2 separate regions of the Homo sapiens genome follow, and region 1 is linked to region 2. The links are contacts of gene promoters, found by promoter capture Hi-C in blood cells and fetal thymus (Javierre and others, 2016). All regions are on one chromosome and are shown on one strand. The core of a region is centred on a gene start or on the middle of the fragment in contact, and the rest is flanking DNA. Distances in the headings are between cores, read along the strand shown.

The links. Contacts are between HindIII fragments. The CHiCAGO score rates a contact against its expected background, and 5 or more counts as called.
Region 1: a contact is called between a fragment that was not itself captured here and the fragment with the promoter of DCAF4L1 in region 2, in 1 of 17 cell types (total B cells). The highest score is 5.4, in total B cells.

Annotation. Positions count from the first base shown.
Region 1 is chr4:42,466,031-42,472,488 of GRCh38, forward strand. All of the region lies in intron 25 of ATP8A1 (ATPase phospholipid transporting 8A1), which reads right to left. It also overlaps the pseudogene RPS7P7. Among named protein-coding and RNA genes, the nearest start is that of SHISA3, 72 kb to the left of the region's middle. The HindIII fragment of the contact is 1,267 bases long and covers 4,366-5,632 here.
Region 2 is chr4:41,978,075-41,983,586 of GRCh38, forward strand. DCAF4L1 (DDB1 and CUL4 associated factor 4 like 1) reads left to right here and starts at 3,682. Exons shown (of 1, transcript NM_001029955.4): 1 at 3,682-5,512. The coding sequence starts at 3,719. The coding sequence ends at 4,909. RefSeq lists enhancers at 3,413-4,612, 4,172-4,944. The HindIII fragment of the contact is 3,961 bases long and covers 2,111-5,512 here.

The DNA.
Region 1 (6,458 bases), core at 3,749-6,248, 490 kb after region 2:
CAAAAAAAAAAAAAAAAAAAAAAAAAAAGGAATAAACACTAGGACAAGGACAGAAGGGTTCAAAGACAGAATGCATAACACACTGTCTACACTGTATTGGAAACTATAGAGAAAGACAGGAAAACTACACAATAAATTGTTCTAACAAACAGTTAAGCTAATAATTAGATAGTAAGAAACAACTTATGTACACAATGTTCAAACAAGAAAAACATCTCAGAGCTAAATTATTTATCAAGGTTATGTGGCATAGATGACTAATAATAAATATCTGCTAAAACATCTGAAAAATCATTTACTATTCTATTTAAAAATGAAGATCACCACTTTGAGAGAATCGATACAACTTTGTCCATTTTCCTGATCATTCCATAGGAAAAATTTTTAGTGGTAGATACTCTGCACAAATATGTGCCTTCAGGAGGCCCCACTGCCCTTATGAACTGCTTCAGCCAGAGCAGCTCTGGTTTTTATTTCAAGTCTGAGAATCATTGCATTAGACTGTGAGCTGCCTGTAAAGTCAATTGGTCTCCTCTTCTTTGTATTTTTAGTGCCTGATCCAAAATAGATACTCAATACATGGTTGCTATACGAAAAAACCATTTTTAATTTTTTCTTTGGATTTCCTTTTACAGTCTGGCAATAGTACAAAATGACACAACTGTGAACTCAGCAAGGAAATGAATGCCTATCAGGCCATTAGCAGGCTATTTCACTGTTAGCTTGATTTTTCTTCAAAGCAATTTTCATTTCATTTTCACATTTTATTTAATTTTTCTTACCAGGCTAATATAAACTGGTAAGTCCACTGGCTGTAGGCCAATGTTTAAACCTGGACTATAGTTGACATTTAGTAAATGTCAAAAAGGAATGCTCACCAATAAATGATCTAGAATGGGAAATGGGCATGAATAGAGAGAAGCATTTGAAAGCTTTATCAAATTCTCTTTAATAGTCTAACAGTATGAATACATTATGAAGTTACACCAAGGGTTCAACAGAACTAGGAAACAGTGGTACTTTTTCCATAACTAAACTTGTAATAAAGGAGAAATCTCTGCAAGGTGAGCTGACATTAGTGATTTTTAAAAAGCATCAGAAAAGAGTTGGACTAAATTTAGTTTTCTTCATGGTGATCACAACCAACCACTGCTTTCTCTGCTTGATACTGTAATTTTCAACACCCAAATTAAAATTGGCTGAGGATTTTCATTCAATTCTGTATGGTTAAATGAGGTGTTAAAGAGTAGGATTGCCCTTAGCAACAATGCCCATTTAAGAAAAAAGAAAATGATATAGTGAGAGACATTTCAAAAGCACACTGCAGCTGCTACTAGCCAGAGCATCTGCTTCCATTACCAAGCTTTAAAAGTGGATGACTGGCTGGGCGTAGTGGCTCATGCCTGTAATTCCAGCACTTTGGGAGGCTGAGGTGAGCGGATCACGAGGTCAGGAGATCGAGACCAGCCTGGGCAACATGGTAAAATCCAATCTCAAATAAAAATACAAAAAATTAGCTAGGGATAGGGGCGCGTGCCTGTAGTCCCAGCTACTCGGGAAGCTGAGTCAGGAGAATCGCTTGAACCCAGGAAGTGGAGGTTGCAGTGAGCTGAGATGGCGCCACTGCACTCCAGCCTGGGTGACAGAGCGGGACTCCATCTCGGGAAAACAAAAGTGGATGACCCTCTTGGAATAAGATTGAAGACATAATGGATTTCCCTGACCATTAGTGATGTCAAGCATTTTTTCATATGTTTGTTGGCCATCTGTATATCTTGAGAATTGTTTATTCATGTCCTTAGCCCATTTTTTGATGGGATTGTTTTTTCTCTTGCTAATTTGTTTGAGTTCCTTGTAGACTCTGGATATTTGTTCTTTGTTGGATATACAGATTGTGAAGATTTTCTTCCACTCTGTGGGTTGTCTGTTTACTCTGCTGACTGATCCTTTTGCTGTGCAGAAGCTCTTTAGAAATGCAAATCAAAACCACAATGCGATACCACCTTACTCCTGCAAGAATGGCCATAATAAAAAAATCAAAAAAGAATAGATGTTGGTGTGGATACGGTGATCAGGGAACACTTCTACACCGCTGGTGGGAATGTAAACTAGTATAATCACTATGGAAAACAGTGTGGAGATTCCTTAAAGAACTAAAAGTAGAACTACCATTTGATCCAGCAATCCCACTATGGGGTATCTACCCAGAGGAAAATAAGTCATTATACAAAAAAGCTACTGGGACATGCATGTTTATAGCAGCACAATTTGCAATTGCAAAAATATGGGACCAGCCCAAATGCCCATCAATCAACAAGCGGATAAAGAAACTGTGGTATGTGTGTATATATATGTATGTGTGTGTATATATTTTATATATACATATTTTATATATTTTATACACACACACACACACACACACAGACACACACATACACATATATGAATGAGATGGAATACTACTCAACCATAAAAGGAATGAATGAATGGCATTCATAGCAACCTGGATGGAACTGAAGACTATTATTGTAAGTGAAGTAACTCAGGAATGGACAAACATTGTATGTTCTTACTCATATGTGGGAGTTAAGCTGTGAGGATGAAGAGGCATAAGAATGATACAATGGACTTTGGGGACTCAGGGGAAAGGGTGGGAGGGGGACTACAAATTGGGTACAGTGTATACTGCTCGGGTGATGGGTACACAAAATCTCACAAATCACCATTGAAGAACTTATTCATGTAACCAAATACTACCTGTTCCCTCAAAACCTATGGAAATAAAAAATTAAAACAAAAGACATAATGGAAGCCTTTTCTTATGATTCTGAAACATCAGTTGGTTGCTAAACAAAGATGTCAGATTTAAGTGGAGATTCATACAAAATAAAATATACATTCTTAAAATATTTAACTCAAAATATAAATGTACAAACTGTGATGCAGGTCAAAGAACCTTACTTTGCATAGGGGTCTGCTGTTTGAAACTGCATGTTTTTGTAGCAGAAATCTCACTCAGGCATAGTCAATGGTTTGCCTCACTAAAATGGAGACCAGAATGTACTGATTCCTTTTACCCCAGTTTATAGTTAGTTTACTCCAAAATTTGACAGCAATATTTTTTAGCAACTCAAAAAGTCTTTTAGAGCATTATACCTGGATTTACTAGCAATAATTTTTACTCAGTTATTTGAATGAAGTTATGAGATATTTAATTAAATGATTATTTCAAGAAGTACAACAGGAATAAACATACTAGGGAACGAGCCCCACTTACAATGCACCAAGTCAATTCATGGAAGCCGAAGAGCATGTACACACCCAAGAGCCTCTGGGTGTGAGCATAGTGTGCTGTGAGTACCTGGCAGAAGGCTGTAGGGAAGGAATGTGGCTGAAAGGGATTCAGGTTTGTCAAGCTGAAGTCAGTAAAAAAGATCCACTATTTTTATAGCATCCATTTAAAAAATGGTTCCTTGCTACAAGGGGGTTACAATATAGCAAAACAAAATTATAAGACATTAAAAATGAATGTAGCATAAAGCTTTGATATGATTGCCCCTCTTTGATAATTTCAGAAATCAACATGGGCTTTAAGAGGCCTCCCTTGATAAGTTAGAATTTGACTTGGCCTTTGAAAGGAGAGGAGAGTTCACTTCAGGTAACAGAAATAGCACATAATAAATTTTAACTTCACACTCAAAATTCTCCAGAATATATTATTTTCTACTGCTGTGTCTCCACCTGTTAAAAGATTACTCTACTCAGAGTTTATTTACTTTCTTGATTGTCAGTACACTTGCTTCTAGATTCATACAATTTCCATGAGTCTAGAACTACCTTACCACACAACAACTTAATTCTTCCTATGTCTATAAAAAAAATCACATATCCATGGCTGAGAATATCTAAAACCTAAACAAATGCCAATAGTGACTCAACGTATAATTCTGAAACATCATAAAGGCACTGTTTTCTTCCCTGAGATTGTTTTATTTTAACCATTTGTGGGTCTGCATCCAGGATTTAAATTATTCACAGTTATCTTCTGTTCCACCGTTGCTTTTTCTTCTTTGGTAGAAGAGACTCCATGGAAAAAGACTACGTATCCAATGTGTACTGTAAACGTCCCTTTCTCTTCCCTGTGGCTCCACAAACAGAGGGTGGTCCTTTCTGATACAACCTAGACGTGCACTGAGTGCAATATGCTTTTCAGATATTATTTTGGCTGTAGTTTCTGCACATGTTATTCATTATTTTTCTTATTTTCTATGCAGTAACTCTCACTGCCCTGTGAACGTTAGATCAGAGCACTGGAAATTTTTACCATTTAAGCTAAGAAGTATATAGGTGGTCCATCTTACATGAAGCTTGTTTTGCACTCTTAATGGGATTAGCTAAATGAATCACCTTTCTAAATGAAATATGAAGAATATATGTACATATATATAATAGATGTATAATAAAGGATAATTTAAGGAATTTTTTATAGGTAGCCAAAAGGAATACAATAATTTATCCACTGGATTGTGTTTTGGGATTAATAACCTAAAAAATTCTTACATATACACAAAATTATACTGATAATATAATATGATCTCAAAGACTTATACTGGAAACTTAAAAATTACTATGAAGTTGCCTTTAGAAGGTAAATCTAGAAAACTTTTTAGAAGAATATGAAGGAACATAGTATTTTCTAGTTCTCCTGAAGTGTTTTATATAGTGACCAAGCCCAGTATTTACTAAATTTCTTTAACTTCCTCAAACTTTAAATTTGAGGTCTGCTCCAGGTGCCTATTTAGAGGTCAGAATCATTAGTGAGGGGATCTGCTGTGCTTTTCTTTGCAACAAACTTCCTAAGATTTCTCCTGTGAATATCAGTGTATTTCCAACTGACTCATATTTTGTTGACTATTTACAGAAATTACAAAAGGAGAGAAAAACGTAAACTAGAAGATCTTACTTGAATCCTTCTGAACTAAAATTTGGCAGGTTCATTTATAAAATTTCACATTGAGAAAAAATTAAGATACAGCAAAAAAAAACCTGATGTACAAAAACTACAAAATATTGTTAACTCCTCTAGAAGCTCACCATCAACTTGTTACTTGGAATGAAAACAGCAGCTTACATAGCAAGTCTTAAAAATGATACTTAGCAATATGGTACATAATGAAACATTCAACCACTTCTTACCTAGAAGTGCGCTATTCAAATGACTGATGAGTGAGAGCTCTCCTAGCCTCCAAAACCAACATCTGTTGATATACTGTGCAGTCATAGGCATTCAGGAGACCTTACAATATAGAGACTGAGTCTACAGAAATAAAATACAGATAGCCTTTCCATAGGACAAAAAAGGAAAGCAAATTTAAAAAAGATTTCCTTTCTGCAATGCATTTTAGATATAAAACCTCTCTTTTGTAGAATTTATGTGGTTATAGGTAAACGTACTGCCTTCTGCTTCAATGATTCAGATAAGTAGTTTAAATAGGGACCGTTTCTATTGATGGTGTGTATTTGATTATGCATGTATGTGCATGTGTGCACTAATTAGCAAATAGACCTATGAAAGGCACTAAAAAGAGAACTCCGCCTAGTATAGATATTTATTATGGTGTTCACACAAGAAAGCTTAGTTTATCTACAATATTGCTGTTCATTTTCTCTTCAGAAAATATCATCTAGTTATATTGAACCTAGCACTGTACTCAGCACAAGGCAGAATTAAAAATGGTAGCAAGCTCTTCCTAGGCTGGCGCTTAGCAAGGAGAAGGCCATGTTCATTTCAAGCACCAAGACTGTGAAGCCCAACAGCGAGACGCCAAACGAGTTAAGAGTCCGGCATCTTTCAGGCTCTTCTGGAGCTGGAGATAAACTCGGACCTCAAGGCTCAGCTCAGGAAGCTGAGTATTACAGCAGCCAAAGAGCCTAAGTTGGTGGTGTCCAGAAAGCTATCATAATCTTTGTTCCTGTTCCTCAACTGAAATCTTTCCAGAAAATCCAACTCTGGCTAGTACGTGAATTGGAGAAAAAGTTCAGTGGGAAGCATGCTGTCTTTATTGCTCAGAGGAGAATTCTGCCTAAGCCAGCTTGAAAAAGCCATACAAAAAATAAGCAAAAACATCCTAGGAGCTGTATATGACACAATTCTTGAGGACTTGATCTTCCCAAGTGAAATTGTGGGCAAGAGAATCTGTGTGAAACTGGATGACAGCCGGCTCATAAAGGTTCATTTGGACAAAGCATAGGAGAACAACATGGAAAGCAAGGCTGAAACTTTTTCTGGTGTCTATAAGCAGCTCACAGGCGAGGATGTTAATTTTGAATTCCCAGAGTTTCCATTGTAAACAAAAATGGCTAGTAAATTCACAGTTAAAAAAAAAAAAAGGTAGTGGAACCAAATAAATGGAAATGTTACAAGAAAGAGAAATTTGGCCAGGAGCAGTGGCTCACGC
Region 2 (5,512 bases), core at 2,432-4,931:
GGAGAGGAGTTTTTTGGGGTATAATTCTCTGTCGTAAGAGGCTGCCCTATGTGTTGTAGGATGTTTAGCAGCATCTCCAGCCTCAACCCACTCGATGCCAGTAGTATCCAGTTGTGACAGCTAAAAATGTCTCCAGATATTGCCAACAGTTGTCCCAGGATGAGAACCACTGCTGCAAAGGTCACACGATGTGGTTGGGCAGGGTGAGTATGGGACCTTGAGCTGGGGTAAGACCTGAGGGGCAGAGTTGTGAGAGTTATGGGGAACGTTTCCAATTTCTTCTATGGAGAAATGGGAAGAGATGGTGGATGAAGGAAATGGAGTGGCATGGTGGGAATGGAGTATGTAAATTCCTAAAAGAGAAGGAAAGAATCCTAAAGGCTGAAATAATTTTTTAAGACAGTAGATAAAAAGTCATGTAGCATTTAAGGAGACTTATTTTTTCTAGAAGGTTGATTTATATGTTTATTGAGAGGGAAGGAAAGTTAGTTAATCAGAAAAGAAGGGGGAGGTGGGGATGGTAAATGAGTTAAAAAAAAAAAAAAGTTAAATAATGAATAGGACTGGCCAGGCGTGGTGGCTCATGCCTGTAATCCCAGCACTTTGGGAGGCCGAGGCAGGCGGATCACAAGGTCAGGAGTTCGAGACCAGTGTGTCCAATATGGTGAAACCCCATCTCTATTAAAAATACAAAAATTAGCCTGGCATGGTAGCGGGAGCCTGTAGTCCCAGCTACTCGGGAGGCTGAGGCAGGAGAATCACTTGAACCCAGGAAGCAGAGGTTACAATGAGCCGAGATCGCACGACTGCACTCCAGCCTGAGCAACAGAGCAAGACACACACACACACAAAAAAAAACACAAAACACAAAAAACGAATAGGACCTACTATTTGATAGCACAACGGGGTGATCATGGTCAATAGTAACTTAATTGTATGTTTTAAAATAACTTAAAGAGTGTAATTGGATTGTTTGTAACTCAAAGGATAAATGGTTAAGGGAATGGATACCCCATTTACCCTGATGTGCTTATTTCACATTACATGCCTGTATCAAAACATCTCGTGTACCCCATAAATATATACACCTACTATATATCCACGGGAATTAAAAATTGAAAAAAAGAAGTGGAAATAGATTGAAAGCTCTCCCTGTAGAGTAGAAGTTGGATAGATTTTGCAGAAATAACCTTAATCCCTTATTCCTCTCAGTGAAGGAGCCTATGAAATAAAGGAGAATTAAACATGTAGTTCTTATAATTTTCATTCCTTCATTCACTTATCTATATCCTATGTCCCATGTACTATATTATACACTAGACAGTAAGGATAGAAAGATGGATAAGAAACAATCCCTGTCTAAAGATGTCCACAGTATACTAGGGTAGACAAAGATGTGTAATCAGTTTGATTGAGAATCTCACCTCAAGAGGCATAAGCTTGAAAGTCTCATCATTTCTACACTTGGTATTTTGTCAGATTTCATTGCTTCAAAGTATCAGCCTCCTTAGTTATTAAAACTTTCATTCTAGGTATTAAGATTAGGTCCTACTGATTTAAAATATTAGTCTCATATTTATTTCAAAAACTTCCTCCATGCCTTCCAGAGCAGACTAGACCCGTAGTTCCAACTTTCTTTATACACACCCCTTTTTTTCCATGTGCCTGCTCTTCCGATGGTGGGGTCAGGAGGTTTAAGAAGGAAAACAGGCAATGCCTTAAATGTCTGACTGCCGCCATGTTGCTATCTGCTTTCTGTAGGTCATTGTTAGAATATATGGGGTTCCTAACAGCCCCACTGATAACTCAGTATCAAGCAGTCCTCTATGCTTTGATAGCCCTTTGCAAGACTTCTGCATCTGTCAGCTGACTTCCATTTGGCAGTGGTGAAACACATTCTTCTGATACATAGAAATCCCTTGTCCCATGTTATGTTCCATGGCAAGTGTGTGGGCCTCAATCTCCTGTGCTCTCTGTGATCCCAGCTCTGGGGCCTGTAGATTCCGACAGGATCCATAGTCCAGATATCACCGGATTTCTCTGTAGTCCCTACCAACTCTCCCCAGTCCTCCAAAATTCCTGGAAATTCATAGCGTAAGGGGAGTCAGCAAGCTTTGTGGCAAAGGAAACATCCAGATGGGGACTGGAGATATCAGCCTCCTCTTGAAGACACCCCAAAACTTTACTAGTATCATGTAATAGGTACTAATGTCCTGAACAGAACATGAAAGACACTAACCATTAATGAAACAAATGGACAATTTGGATAAATTCATAATTTATTTACTTATTTTTCTTTCTTTTTGAGACAGGGTCTTATTCTGTCTCCCAGCTGGGCTGGAGTGCAGTGGGGTGATCACTGCAGCCTCAACTTTCAGGGCTCAGGTGATTTTCCCTCCAAGACTCCTAGGCTCAAGTGATTTTCCCTCCCAGTCTCCTGAGTAGCTGGGTCTACAGGTGTGCACCATACCCCGCTAATTTTTGTATTTTATTTATTTATTTATTTTTTGAGACAGAGTCTTGCTCTGTTGCCCAGGCTAGAATGCAGTGGCGCGATCTCGGCTCACTGCAAGCTCCGCCTCCCGGGTTCACGCCATTCTCTTGCCTCAGCCTCCAGAGTAGCTGGGTCTACAGGCGCCCGCCACGATGCCCGGCTAATTTTTTTAATTGTTGGTAGAGACGGGGTTTCACCGTGTTAGCCGGGATGGTCTCAATCTCTTGACCTCGTGATCCGCCTGCCTGCGCCTCCCAAAGTGCTGGGATTACAGGCGTGAGCCACTGCGCCCGGCCTAATCTTTGTATTTTTTTAGAGACAAAGTTTCACCATGCCGCCCAGGCTGGTCTCTAACTGTATTTTAAAAATACAGGCGGCCGGGCGCAGTGGCTCACGCTTGTAATCCCGGAACTTTAGGAGGCTGAGGCGGGCCGATCATGAGGTCAGCAGATCGAGACCATCTGGCTAACACGGTGAAACCCTGTCTCTACTAAAAATACAAAAAAAATTAGCCAGGCGTGGTGGCGGGCGCCTGTAGTCCCAGCCACTTGGGAGGCTGAGGCAGGAGAATGGCGTGAACGTGGGAGGCAGAGCTTGCAGTGAACCGAGATCGCGCCACTGTACTCCAGCCTGGCCGACAGAGCGAGACTCCGTCTTAAAATAAAAAATAAAAAAATAAGAAATACAGGCAGGGCGCGTGGGCTCATGCTTGTAATCCCAGCACTTTGGGAGGCTGAGGCGGACAGGCTGCTTGAGCTCAAGAGTTCCAGACTAGCATCGGCAAAGCAGGGAGACCCCATCTTTACAAAAAAAGTAGCCTGGCATGGTGTTGTGAGCCCATAGTCCCAGCTAAGTAGGGCAGAGGTAGGAGAATCACTTGAGCCCAGGAGTTCCAGGCTGCAGTGAGCCGTGGTCGTGCCACTGGACTCCAGCCTGGGTGAAAGAGCAAGACCCTGTCTCAAAAAGAGAAAGGAAAAAATTTAACATCAAGAACTTCCTTTCATCAAGACACCACTGAGAGAATACGACAACCCACAGAGTAGGAAAAGAGATTTGTAATACACATCTGTAACAATGGACTTCCTCCTAGAATAGAGAGGATAAAAAGTAGCAACACTTCCGCTTGCACCCGGACGGAACTTCCTGTCACGGAAAAGAACATCCTGTCACGGAGAAGAACATCCTGCAGAATTTCCTGTCACGAGGAACATTCCGCAGGAGGAAATGGAGGCTGAAAGGCTGCGACTCCTCGAGGAAGAGGCCAAGCTGAAAAAGGTAGCCAGAATGGGATTTAATGCATCTTCCATGCTCCGAAAAAGCCAGCTAGGTTTCCTCAACGTCACCAGTTACTCCCGTTTAGCCAACGAGCTGCGTGTGAGCTGCATGGAGCGGAAAAAGGTCCAAATTCGGAGCTTGGATCCCTCCTCTTTGGCGAGCGACCGATTTAACTTCATTCTGGCGAGTACCAACAGCGACCAGCTCTTCGTAGTGAACCAGGTCGAAGTCGAAGGCTCCAAGTACGGCATCATCAGCCTGCGAACTCTGAAGATCCCTTCGTTCCACGTGTACGTGCTCAGAAACCTCTACGTCCCCAACCGGAAGGTGAAGTCCCTGTGCTGGGCCTCGCTGAACCAGTTGGACTCTCACGTTCTGCTGTGCTTCGAGGGAATCACAGATGCTCCAAGCTGTGCAGTGCTGCTCCCAGCGTCGCGGTTCTTAAGTGTTCACACAAGAGTTAACCAGCCTGGCATGCTCTGCAGTTTCCAGATCCCAGAGGCCTGGTCCTGTGCGTGGTCCCTCAACACCCGGGCATATCACTGCTTTAGTGCAGGCTTGTCTCAGCAGGTCCTGTTGACCAGCGTGGCGACGGGACACCAGCAGTCATTTGATACCAGCAGTGATGTCTTGGCCCAGCAGTTTGCTAGTACGGCTCCTTTGCTGTTTAATGGCTGTCGCTCCGGGGAGATCTTTGCCATTGATCTGCGTTGTAGAAATCGAGGCAAGGGGTGGAGGGCCACTCGCCTGTTCCATGACTCAGCAGTGACCTCTGTGCAAATCCTCCAAGAAGAGCAATGCCTGATGGCATCAGACATGACTGGAAAGATCAAGCTGTGGGATCTGAGGGCCACTAAATGTGTAAGGCAGTACGAAGGTCACGTGAATGAGTCCGCCTATCTGCCCCTGCATGTGCACGAGGAAGAGGGAATCGTGGTGGCAGTGGGCCAGGACTGCTACACGAGAATCTGGAGCCTCCATGATGCCCACCTGCTCAGAACCATCCCTTCCCCGTACTCTGCCTCCGAGGACGACATTCCCAGCGTGGCCTTCGCTTCTCGGCTCGGGGGCATCCGGGGAGCAGCACCAGGGCTGCTCATGGCTGTCCGGCAGGACCTTTATTGTTTCCCCTTCAGCTAATTCTGCAGGTGGCAGCGCGGCCGAATGTGGATTTGACTTAAGGAAGTTAAGAGTATCTTATTACCGTTTCTGTGAGAGCATTTTAAGAGACGTGTTGTATATAGATCGCATCCATCCGGCTGCCAGGGGTAAGGTGTTAAGAGTTTTATGTGGAGACGTTCTTGTAAAGTTATTTCAGTTAAACTGTGGACTTAACTTGAAAGTCCTTTTCATAAAAGGTACCTGTTTCCTCTTGTTGAATGCCTTAGAACAGTTAACCACCTCCCCAACCCTTTTTTTTTTTAAATAATTAAGACTTTTCTAAGGACTGAAGATTGGCAAAAACTAAAATAAATTAAAGCAGCTTCTTTCACTAGTAGCCCTTTAGAGAAGCATAATGATGGTACTGGTAAGACTGTTTGACTAATCATACAGGGTCCCAGGCATCTGCGCTTGAGGAAGCCAGTGGGAGTGGAGACAAGGGAGAGGTAATTTCTCAGAGTCTCTACAGAAATATTTAAGGCTGGAGTTTGGAATCATTAAATTTGGCCTTCTCAAACTCAATAGCAGATCTCTTAAGGTTCTCCTTTTATTGTTATCATCCATAGGCATTGGAAGGAAAGA